3 separate regions of the Homo sapiens genome follow, and regions 1 and 3 are each linked to region 2. The links are contacts of gene promoters, found by promoter capture Hi-C in blood cells and fetal thymus (Javierre and others, 2016). All regions are on one chromosome and are shown on one strand. Each heading gives the region's core, a stretch centred on a gene start or on the middle of the fragment in contact. The rest is flanking DNA. Distances are from core to core; before and after follow the strand shown. Region 1 overlaps LMNB1 (lamin B1). Region 2 holds the start of SRFBP1 (serum response factor binding protein 1). Region 3 overlaps ALDH7A1 (aldehyde dehydrogenase 7 family member A1).

Region 1 (3,392 bases), core at 406-2,905, 4.8 Mb before region 2:
GAGGCAGAGGTTGAAAGGAGCCGAGATCGTGCCACTGTACTCCAGCCTGGCGGCAGAGCAAGACTCCGTCTCAAAAAAACAAAAACAAAAAAACAAAAATAAGTAAGATGAAGTGAAATCATATCTGTTTACGGTAACAGCTTGAGTTCTCAAATGCGGTCTTTTAGCAGCAGTAGCTTGAATAATCTACCTGCAAAATTTCTCCCCATCCCCAAACCTTATTATTTCTTTATCTGATATATTTTTGTGGCAAAGAAATCATAAATAAAATATAATTACATGTTTAGCTATGACAAAGTCATTCTAGAACCCCTCCATTCCTTTACAAAGCAAAATTATATATAGTTACCTCTTCATACATGCTTTTGCGAAACTCCAAGTCCTCAGTAAGGCTCTGACAACGATTCTCCAAATCTACTTTAAGTAAAGTTTCATCTGCTAACTGTTTTTTGGCTGCAGCTAAGGAGGCTTCCAACTATTACAAGGAAAAAGAATTGTGATAAAAATTACATGGCAATCATTTAATAATGAACATAAGATATCTATGAATCAAATCAAATCAAGTGTTAAAATTCCTATATATTTATCAATGTATAATTACTTCATCTTAACATTTATCACAGAACTGGGTATTCATTTGCTGGTCCCACCCACAGAGTATCATACCAAACGACCAGTCAAATTGTTAATTGGCAACAGGGAATAGAACAGAGACGTATGACTCACTCACATTTCAAAAATCAAACTAGTTATTTTAGCTAACCACTTTCATTTTTTCCTGTGTGGAGAGCAGCATTTTGGCATCTCTTTTCTTACTTATTTCCTAACTAACAAAATAGGCTTTGAGAGCAGAGACAGAATGAGTGTGTGCACAATAGGGAAGAAGAAGGGAACCACAAGATCTGGCCAATCCAGATATAATGCCTGGGAGGTGATAATGTTTTGCATGTTAGCTACCTCAAGACTTTTCTTCAAGTAAACCATCAGAAAACAAATATATAAAATTTCAAAAATAAAATACATTTGAAAATCAATCAATCAATCAAACTATGGCTTAAGGCAGATGAGGCAATTAACCTGTCACATACGGCTCAAGAGTAGGCTTGACCTTACCTGGGCAATCTGATCCTTCAGATCCTCCAAATCTCCCTCTAAACTTTTTTTGTCACCAAGTGCAGTAGCAAGAGCTGCATCTTTCGAATTCAGTGCTGCTTCATATTCTCGAAGCTTGATCTGGGCGCCATTAAGATCAGATTCCTTCTTAGCATAGCTGGAACAGATTTAAAAAGCATAAGACATCAAACCATACTGATGACTTGAGGTCTTCTCCCTCTCTGCTGAAGGGACAAACAAAAGAAGTAGTTTAAATAAAGGCTCCCATCACCTATCAAAATTAGAGAAGCAATTCACAAGCACTGGATCTAGAGTTTTTGTTGGCTAACATTCTCTTTCAATGTCACATGATTACTAATAACTATGGGTCAAAGACGTCCATATTAAAGACCAATGTACCAGAATCCTGCTTGTCCTTGAGTGAGACTGCATGTCCCCCTTGTTCTATAAAGAGGCACACTAACACAGGATATTTTTGAAGAAATGAAAATTCATTTTTTAAATATAATGCATATTATAAGCCAAAACATACAGGAACTGTAAGTCAGGATATCATGCTGAGCGCAGTGGCTTACGTCTGTAATCACATCACTTTGAGAGGCTGATGTGGGAGGATCACTTGAGACCAGGAATTCAAGACCAACCTAGGCAACATAGCAAGACCCCAAATCTACAAAAAAAAAAAAAAAAAAAAGAGCCTGGCACAGTGGCACACATTTGTAGTCCCAGCTACTTGGGAGGCTTAGGCGGGGACATCGCTTGAGCCCAGGAGGTTGAGGCTGCAGTGAGCCATGACTGCACAACTGTACTGCAGCTGGGCAGTAGACCAAGACCCAGTCTCAAAAAAAAAAAGAAAATCAAATTACACTAAATGAGAAGAAAAGGTTATTTTAAAAAGTAATGTTATAACCCAATGCATGATACTGAAACTCCCCTGATATTAGTAAGAACTAATTGACCCCAAGCTTGCAAGTACCTCCCATTTTGTTACATAGAGGTAACAATAAATAACGGCCTCCCTAATATTTTGCATAAAAATTATTTCAGTTTATAAAACCAACTACCAAAAAACTGAGGTTCAGGGCCGGGCACGGTGGCTCATGCCTGTAATCCCAGCACTTTGGAAGGCCAAGGCTGGCGGATCACTTGAGGTCAGGAGTTCGAGACCAGCCTTGCCAACATGGTAAAACCTCGTCTTTACCAAAAAATACAAAAACTTAAGCTGGGCATGGTGGCGCAATGCCTGTAGTCCCACCTACTCGAGAGGCTCAGGCAGGAGAATCACTTGAACTCAGGAGGTGGAGGTTGCAGTGAGCCGAGACCGCACCACTGCACTCCAGCCTGGGTGACAGAGAGAGACCTTGTATCAAAAAAACAAACAAACAGGCCGGGCGTGGTGGCTCATGCCTGTAATCCCAGCACTCTGGGAGGCTGAGGTGGGCGGATCACCTGATGTTGGGAGTTCAAGACCTGCCTGACCAACATGGAGAAACCCCGTCTCTACTAAAAATACAAAAAAATTATCCAGGCATGGAGGCGCATGCCTGTAATCCCAGCTACTCAGGGGGCTGAGGAAGGAGAATCACTTGAACCCAGGAGGCAGAGGTTGCAGTGAGCCGAGATTGTGCCATTGCACTCCAGCCTGGGCAACAAGAGTGAAACTCCGTCTCAAAAACAACAAAAACAAAAAACAAGCTGAGGTTCAAACTGAAGTTTCTTTTTCTCTAAATATCACTTTTTTTTTTTTTTGAGATGGCATCTCACCATCACCTAGGCTGGAGCGCAGTGGGGCGATCTCGGCTCATTGCAACCTCTGCCTCCTGGTTTCAAGTGGTTCTCATGCCTCAGCCTCCCAAGTAGCTGGGATTACAGGCATGCGGTACTAGGCCGAGATAATTTTTTGTATTTGTAGTAGAGATAGGGTTTGCCTATTTTGGCCAGGCTGGTCTCGAACACCTGGCCTCAAGTGATCTGCCAGCCTCAGCTTCCCAAGATGCTGGGATTACAGGCATGAGCTGCTGCACCCGGCCTCTAAATAACCACTTTTTTTTAAATGGAGTTCTACATTATAAAATTATAGTTCATTTGGATATATTTTGCCCAATAATTATATTTTAAAGGTCAGTATTTCTCTCATCCAAATAATTATTAACAGTAGTTACACAGAGAAGCCTTAATAATACCAAAATTATTGCCGGGCATGGTGGGCCATGCCTGTAATCCCAGCATTTTGGGAGGCCGAGGCAAGTGGATCACCTGAGGTCAGGAGTTTGAGGCAA
Region 2 (3,704 bases), core at 85-2,584:
TCTTCAGCATATCCTGTACTCCACTGTCAACTGAAATCCTGACTCGTTAATCTGGCAGCAGAGAATATATTTCAGTTTTATTTCCTTCTTCATCTCACAAGTTCCCATCAGTGAAGAGTTACTTATCCCTGTATTACCCACGGGTTCTTCTGCTACTAGCCCTTTCCTGCTTATACCAGTCCCTCTGCCTGGAATGACTTCTTCCCCTTTCCTGAATCACTGACTGCAATTCCTGTGCAAGATCCCTAAAGACCAAGGACAAGTATCACCCATTTCATTTTGCCGCCTTTGGAAACTTTTCTGCATTACTAGGTTTTGGAGGCATTCTTCACACATTGTTCTGTAACACAGGTGAGTGTTGCTTAGCTCTCTTACTTGAGTATAGGTTACTAGAAAATATGAAATATCCCTTACACTACTGTGTGTAATCTAAACAGTGACTTGCTCATAAACGGGATAAAGAATTTCCTTTCTGTATCTAACTGTGAGGTCCTTACTCGATCCTTATGTTTCCAGCTTACTTTAAGACTTTGGATGACATTATTTTGTTGAATAGAAGCAGAAACCAGAGGGGGATAAGTGGTAGAAATGGTATTTTGTCGACACCGCACACTATGGAAGTGACGGTGGTGAGAACAAATGTCTGATGAGAATGGACTGAAAAAGCAGAAAAAAGAATTGAGGATAGCAAGTATAAACAGCTCTTTATTGAAGTTCTGCTGTAAACGGAAGCAAAGAAATAGGACACTAACTGGAAGAGGAAACGAAGTACTGAGCATACAGTCTCATTCAAGACCACCAATTTCTTAGAAGCTACAGCTCTTACTTTCTCTCTTTCATTTTCGACAGGCAATAAAGAGCAGGTAATGTGTACTGAAAGTTTATTAAGGGTCAGGCACTTGCAAATACTTTACGTATCTCAGTTAATCTCACAACCCTGGGACGAACTATCTTGAGTTCCGCTTTACAGACGAGAATATTGAACGTACAGGCTAAAGGTTCTTCCCAAAGTCCCACAGACATAAATTCGTGGGGCCTGACACATGTCTCTCACTTTAGTCACCTGGAGACCGAAAAGGGAAATTACCGGTTGCCAAACTCCAAGTTGCGGGAAACCCGCCTGGGCCCACCACGAAAGTTCCTCCAACCGCACCCTCTATGCCCGCCTCCGACCACGCGTCTCAAAAGAGCTGGTTTTGAGGACCCTTAAAGTCAGCCCCATAGGTTCCTCGGCGCTCACCTCGTTATTGAGGTTCAGAGTTCCCGGCTGAGCCATGGTAGATGAAGGAATATGATCCGCCGCTGCCTGCACGTGAACCGGTCTCTCAGACCGCGGCTGCGTCGCCACGCCCCTCAACGGAAGCCTCTTCTGTCCAAAACTCATCCGCCTTCTGCTCTAGCTGCCGCCTGGGAACAAGAAACATTGACGCTTGGAAGGGAAAACCGGAACTGAGACAGAACAACTACCGGCGCAGAGGGCTACGCAACGGAATTGCGCGTTCCTATGGAAACCAGACGGGGGCTGGTAGCTGGGCAACGTCTAGTTTTTCAAGATTCGGTTTGTGTGTGTGTGTGTGTGTGTGTGTGTGTGTGTGTGTGTGTGTGTGTGTTCCCTTGGTACACTGCGCTCGCATTGTACCGGCCTTGGTTTTTCTCTCTAATGGCTAGGGGGGCGCTGAACGGCGGTGAAAGAGCTCTTCTGAAATGATCACTTGAATGAACGATTTTTTGCTTCCATTTTTTTAAATCTAGTATTTGTGAAGATTTCTGCTTTTCTAACAAGCACACCTTTTTAAATCCTCGCAGTTTTTTGTTACAACCTGACATTATAGCTGAGGTGCGGACATTTTTTTCCTGCACACTATAGAAGGGTTTAAATTTAGGGAATAAACATTTGAAGCAAAACCAGGATACACATTTGGTACTGCCTGTGGGAATGGCTGTTTATTAGCCGGCAAGCATAGGAGACGTAAGGGAGTGTGTTTGAATTAGGTAATATATAATTGTCAACACCTTCTAGTATTGACCATTAAAATGTGTCAAATGGTGGTCCAAGAGCTTTACATAAATTAGCTCCAAATCTCCACAGAAATCCAACAAGATAGAAATTATTTTCCTTTTATTAATATTATTTTGTTAGAGACCCAGTCTCTCTTTGTCATCCAGGCTGGTGTGCAGTGGCACAGTCATAGCTCACTGCAGCCTCAAACTCTTGGGCTCAAGCCATCCTCTCACCTCAGCCTTCCAAATAACTAGGACTACAGGAGTGAGCCACCCTACTCTGCTCTGAACTATTATTTTACAGATGTGGAAAGTGACTTCAGAGGCACCAAGTGCCTCGCCCAGAGTCACTTGCCTGGGACTGTCCACTGCTACAGGACTTCAAGTCCAGCTACATAATACCTGGGGTACAGTGCAAAATGAAAATCCAGGCCCCTTTATTCAAAATGCAGGAAAAACGTTTCTTCCGGCGGAGGGTGGTGGCTCATGCCTGTAATCCCAGTACTTTAGGAAGCCTAGGCGGGCGGATCACCTGAGGTCGGGAGTTCGAGACCAGCCTGACCAACGTGGAGAAACCCCGTCTCTACTAAAAATACAAAATTAGCCGACCGTGGTGACGCATGCTTGTAATCCCAGCTACTCGGGAGGCTGAGGCAGGAGAATCACTTGAACCTGGGAGGCGGAGGTTGCCGTGAGCCAAGATCACTCCAGACTGGGCAACAAGAGTGAAACTTCGTCTCAAAAAAAAAAAAAAGTTTCTTCCATAGCGTCTCTTGACTCATCATGGTGTTTGTTAATTTACTATTTAATACGATGCTCCCTAAAGCACAGAGACATTAGGTTGTCAGGGCAGACCCTCAAAGGTGCCTGAGACCCCTGCCCCAAGACTCAGGTAGGAGTGTATACACTGGAGCAAGGTGGCAGCAGTTGCTGGGTGGAGACAGGAGAGCAGGAAACCAGAGAATCCACCTGAGGAGCTTTTGGGGACAGGACCACACATGACCTGAGACAACAAGGCCTTGGCACATGTTCCATTATCCCACTAGACTTCACTTACAAAACTCAAATTCAAAAAGGAAATCACTAATAATTTCAAGACTGTGCCCAAAGCTTAGTTAACCAAGGCCCACTTCTGAGCCTTTGCCGAAGAAACCAGCCTTGTCCAGAACCCATGCTGTTATCTCATAAAACTGAACTCCGCTTAGAATAGCTCTGACTTGGTAAAAGAAATTGGCATTCTTTTAGTTTGGTGCATTATTTGGACACAAATGGATTTAACAGATGACTTCCTGTTGGACCAGTGTTACATGAAGGTAGATTTGCCACTACTAAATAGTACGCTGAATTGTAATTGTTTCCTTTGTCTACCTTCTGTCATTAAAGCTGAACTCCTGGAGTGTAGGAGCTTTTTCAGCTCCAGGTGGGTAGTGTACACTTTGCATATAAATACATACGAAGGAATGTCAAATAATCAAGATAAATAGAGAGCTTTATTGAAAATCTGTCTTCGAATTTGGGAGAAAGGAGTTATTATGATCCCATAATGCTTCAGAAAATGTATTACTAATACAAAATTTGCCTGTAACTCTGAAAAGCTTTGCAGTGTTTTCTCTTGACTACTTCTTTTGCTCCCTAAAATCTCAGTTCTTAAACCACCAGTCTCCTCAGGATCAGCACTTGCTTAGTTGTTTTCCTCCTTAGCC
Region 3 (3,697 bases), core at 1-2,500, 4.6 Mb before region 2:
GACCTTGGAGCAGGCCTGCCGCCTTCATGTCCACTCTCCTCATCAATCAGCCCCAGTATGCGTGGCTGAAAGAGCTGGGGCTCCGCGAGGAAAACGAGGGCGTGTATAATGGAAGCTGGGGAGGCCGGGGAGAGGTACGCGGGCGCTCAAGAAATCTCTGCAGCCGCCGGGGCTCGCTCGAGGAGGCCGGGCGGGCACTGACCTACCGACTCCCCGCTGGCGCTGGATGCGGTAGTAGCATGGGAGATTTTGAAGCTCCACAGTAAAAGTTTTCTCGTGTAGGGTGCCTTTAAAACAAAAACTTAGATTTTAGGTCCTTGTGTGCTATGCAGAATCGACGTCATTTTGGAGCTGTAGGGGCTAAACTTCCCGCGCATATTTAAAACATTATGGTCTACCGGGCGCGGTGGCTCACCCCTGTAATCCCAGCACTTTGGGAGGCCTAGGCGGGCGGATCACCTGAGGTAGCGAGTTCAAGACCAGCCTGACCGACATGGAGAAACCTTGTCTCTACTAAAAAAAATACAAAATAGCCGGGCGTGGTGGCGCATGCCTGTAATCCCAGCTACTAGGGAGGCTGAGGCAGGAGAATCGCTTGAACCCGGGAGGTGGAGGTCGTAGTGAGCCGAGATCGTGCCATTGCACTCCAGCCTGAGCAACAAGAGCGAAATTCCGTCTCAAAAAAAAAAAAAAAAAAAAAAATTAAAACCTTATGGTCTTGGGATCTATGGTCTTGTGAGAAATGTGGCACACTGAGCGGTGCAACTGATCTTAATTTAGAGCTTAACTCTGGCTCTTCAGCTGTGACGTGCACCGCAGGTAACGTTCTTCAGTGTAGTTTTAAGTTATCTTCCTTCCTGAATTCTTTGGGAGTTTGCAAGCTTGGACGTGCCGAAATCTTGCCATGTTGTACGTTGGGCTGTGAACTCCTTTGAGGACTGGATTTTCAGCATTTCTCCATTGCCCAGGGCTTAACACCGCGCCTGATACCCATTACTGCTCAAAACAATGTTTTATAGAATACAATGGAAAGGTAAGGTTATTATCGCCCAGATTTTTTTTTAAAAGAAAGTTTTTTATAGGAGGATGTTATGTAACAGTTAACAAACTTTGTTGGACGTTGTATATTATATAATGAACCTGCCTTGGTAGAGGGAACACGTCTTTTGGTAATCAGTGGCTGTAGGAGATACAGATAATTTTAATTGCTCCTCAGACCTCGGTGTTTCATCCTGATTTCCGTGTGGTATCTGATCATTAGGCTCTTGGAGGCCTTTTTAGCTGTGCCTTGATTTTCCCTTTCATTGTTGACCTGAGACCTCTCCAGTTGGTGTGGACACGGGACTTTCCAACAGTTTTCCTGCCTTGGCCATTTCATCTCTGAGCAGAGGGTGGGCAGAGTAAGGAAGAGAAGAAATAACTAAAACTAGTCAGTTTGGTCTGTTATTAATGGAAAAAGAGACAAAATAACTGCTTATGTTAAGGCTTTTGTTTATATGCCTAATATTGAGATGTCAGAGGCGAGTTTTGCAGAAAGGTAGTTTCTAATGTTTAAGTCAGAAATGAAAGACAACCTCTGTAGAGTGGTTTATATGTAACAGAAGTTAACCTAAGCTTTTTGAGTTTGGGTATTATATCATTTTTTCCTCTCTTGTTTTTCTTCCCCGTTTGGTCTATTCCCTTACTTCAAAAGGGATTACGTTTTCTATACATGATCATCATCCTTTTGTTTTAAGGTTATTACGACCTATTGCCCTGCTAACAACGAGCCAATAGCAAGAGTCCGACAGGTAAGAGTGTGTGTGTGTGTGTGTGTGTGTGTGTGTGTGTGTTTAATTCAAATTATACACAAGGAGTTTGTGCAGGCTTTCTTTAGAGGCAGAAGCCAGTTAGGCAGGTCAAGAATAATATAAAATCACAAATGAAGAGAATAATGTGTTTATTTTTCATTTGTCATTTAGGACTGTCTGGGGGAGACTGTCCTCTCTTGGGTGGGGGCGTGAAAAGGAAAGAACCATAGAAAAGGTGAAGCGTAGAAAGATTAGGCAGGGGGCCATTTAAGGCAGTGCTTCTGAAGTACCTGAGGATTTTGTTAGAATGAAGCTTCTGATTTCCGAAGTCTGGGTTGGAGCTCAAGGTTCTGCATTTCTAATATGCCTTACATGTTCCCAGATGAAGCTGACAGATTTTGCTTTGAAAAGCAAGGTTTTAAAGCATAGTTGGATACCAACCTGTTTTACCGGGTTCTAGCTAGTTTTTGGAAGTATAGACTGTGGGAATCATTCTCAGCCATAAATGTTAGGGAACCCTAGAGATTTCCCAACTCTTTTCTGAAAATATTTTTGTGTTCTAGAAGATCATCATCATTTCTCTTTATTTCCCCCTTTCTGTCCCCCTAATTCTTAATTTAGGCCAGTGTGGCAGACTATGAAGAAACTGTAAAGAAAGCAAGAGAAGCATGGAAAATCTGGGCAGATGTAAGTATGGCCTTTGTTTCTAGAATTCAGAAAAGATCACTTTGCCTATTGTAACCAATGAGATACATAAACATCTGATAAGCAGGTCAGTGCCGCCTTGTTAAAATGTGAGCTCCTTGGGGGCTGTGATACTGTACTAGGGCTCCTGCTGTTTTGGAAACACCTCTGCCATATTTCTAGGGTAGTGCCTTTTTTGTACTTGCCATTCATTGAATGGATAAATTTAAATGAATTAAAACTTTGTGCTGGTATAGTATAAACTTGAGCTGTGAACACTATTCTTCACTGAAATTACTTGAATTTATAATTAAATAGAAAATGAATAGAAGATCTATGCCAGAAATATTTGTTTGCTCCTCCTCTATCCCCCTGCCAGATTTGTCTGGGAGTATCTCAGCAATAGGTCAGCATTCCTGGTTTAAAGAACAACAGCAGATCGCACCTGGTGGCTCATGCTTGTGATCCCACCACTTCAGGAGGCTGAGGCGGGTGGATCATCTGAGGTCAGGAGTTCGAGACCAGCCTGGCCAACATGGTGAAACCCTGTCTCTAGTAAAAATACAAAAATTAGCCGAATGTGGTGGCGCGTGTAATCCAGCCTACTCAGGAGGCTGAGGCAGGAGAATTGCTTGAGCTTGGGAGGCGGAGGCTGCAGTGAGCCAAGATAGCATCACTGCACTCCATCCAGCCTGGGCGACAGAGTGAGACTCCATCTCAAAAAAAAAAAAAAAAAAAAGAGCAGTGGCAGCATCCCTTTCTCAGGGCCAGAGGCTCATGTTCCTTGACTGTCTAATCAGGCTGTGAGGCAGAGTCAGCCTCCTTGGTCTCTGAGTCTCCACCATTGGTTAAATGAGCAAATGTGGGAACTGTGACTGGTGCTGGGCTGGCCACACTGACTTGTCACTAGGTGGGAGCTAGGCTCCTGAGAAGGGGAGAGTAAAGGCGAACTAGGATAGCCTGATTTCCCAACCTTTCCACTACCCCCATCCTCAGTGTGCTTTGTCTTGTAAAAAGAAAAGACTGGGGGTGCCTGTCTCCTGGGAGGGTTAAATGAGTTAATCATTTAAAGTGCTTACTGGAGAGCCTGGCACAGGAAAAGCCTCAATACATTTGAGTTAAACCCTGTGCTGTTGGGTGTGGGACTGCTGAGGGACTACTGAGCTGCAGTATTTTCTCTGAGTGAGTGATTGCAAGGGGGGTTGGGTGGGGTTGGGGTGGAT

What was found. The method cuts DNA at HindIII sites, captures the fragments that hold promoters and counts their contacts. A CHiCAGO score of 5 or more calls a contact.
Region 1: a contact is called between a fragment that was not itself captured here and the fragment with the promoter of SRFBP1 in region 2, in 1 of 17 cell types (total B cells). The highest score is 5.1, in total B cells.
Region 3: a fragment that was not itself captured here is called in contact with the fragment with the promoter of SRFBP1 in region 2 in 1 of 17 cell types (total B cells); the score reaches 10.8 in total B cells.

Annotation. Positions count from the first base shown.
Region 1 is chr5:126,802,654-126,806,045 of GRCh38, reverse strand. It overlaps LMNB1 (lamin B1), which reads right to left. Exons shown (of 11, transcript NM_005573.4): 2 at 1,114-1,270; 3 at 350-475. Among named protein-coding and RNA genes, the nearest start is that of LMNB1, 27 kb to the right of the region's middle. The HindIII fragment of the contact is 851 bases long and covers 1,230-2,080 here.
Region 2 is chr5:121,959,605-121,963,308 of GRCh38, reverse strand. It overlaps SRFBP1 (serum response factor binding protein 1), which reads right to left and starts at 1,334. Exons shown (of 8, transcript NM_152546.3): 1 at 1,241-1,334. The coding sequence starts at 1,276. RefSeq lists enhancers at 1,349-1,398, 1,143-1,681. The HindIII fragment of the contact is 3,156 bases long and covers 1-3,113 here.
Region 3 is chr5:126,591,444-126,595,140 of GRCh38, reverse strand. It overlaps ALDH7A1 (aldehyde dehydrogenase 7 family member A1), which reads left to right. Exons shown (of 18, transcript NM_001182.5): 1 at 1-134; 2 at 1,737-1,790; 3 at 2,412-2,477. Among named protein-coding and RNA genes, the nearest start is that of ALDH7A1, 1.9 kb to the left of the region's middle. The HindIII fragment of the contact is 733 bases long and covers 884-1,616 here.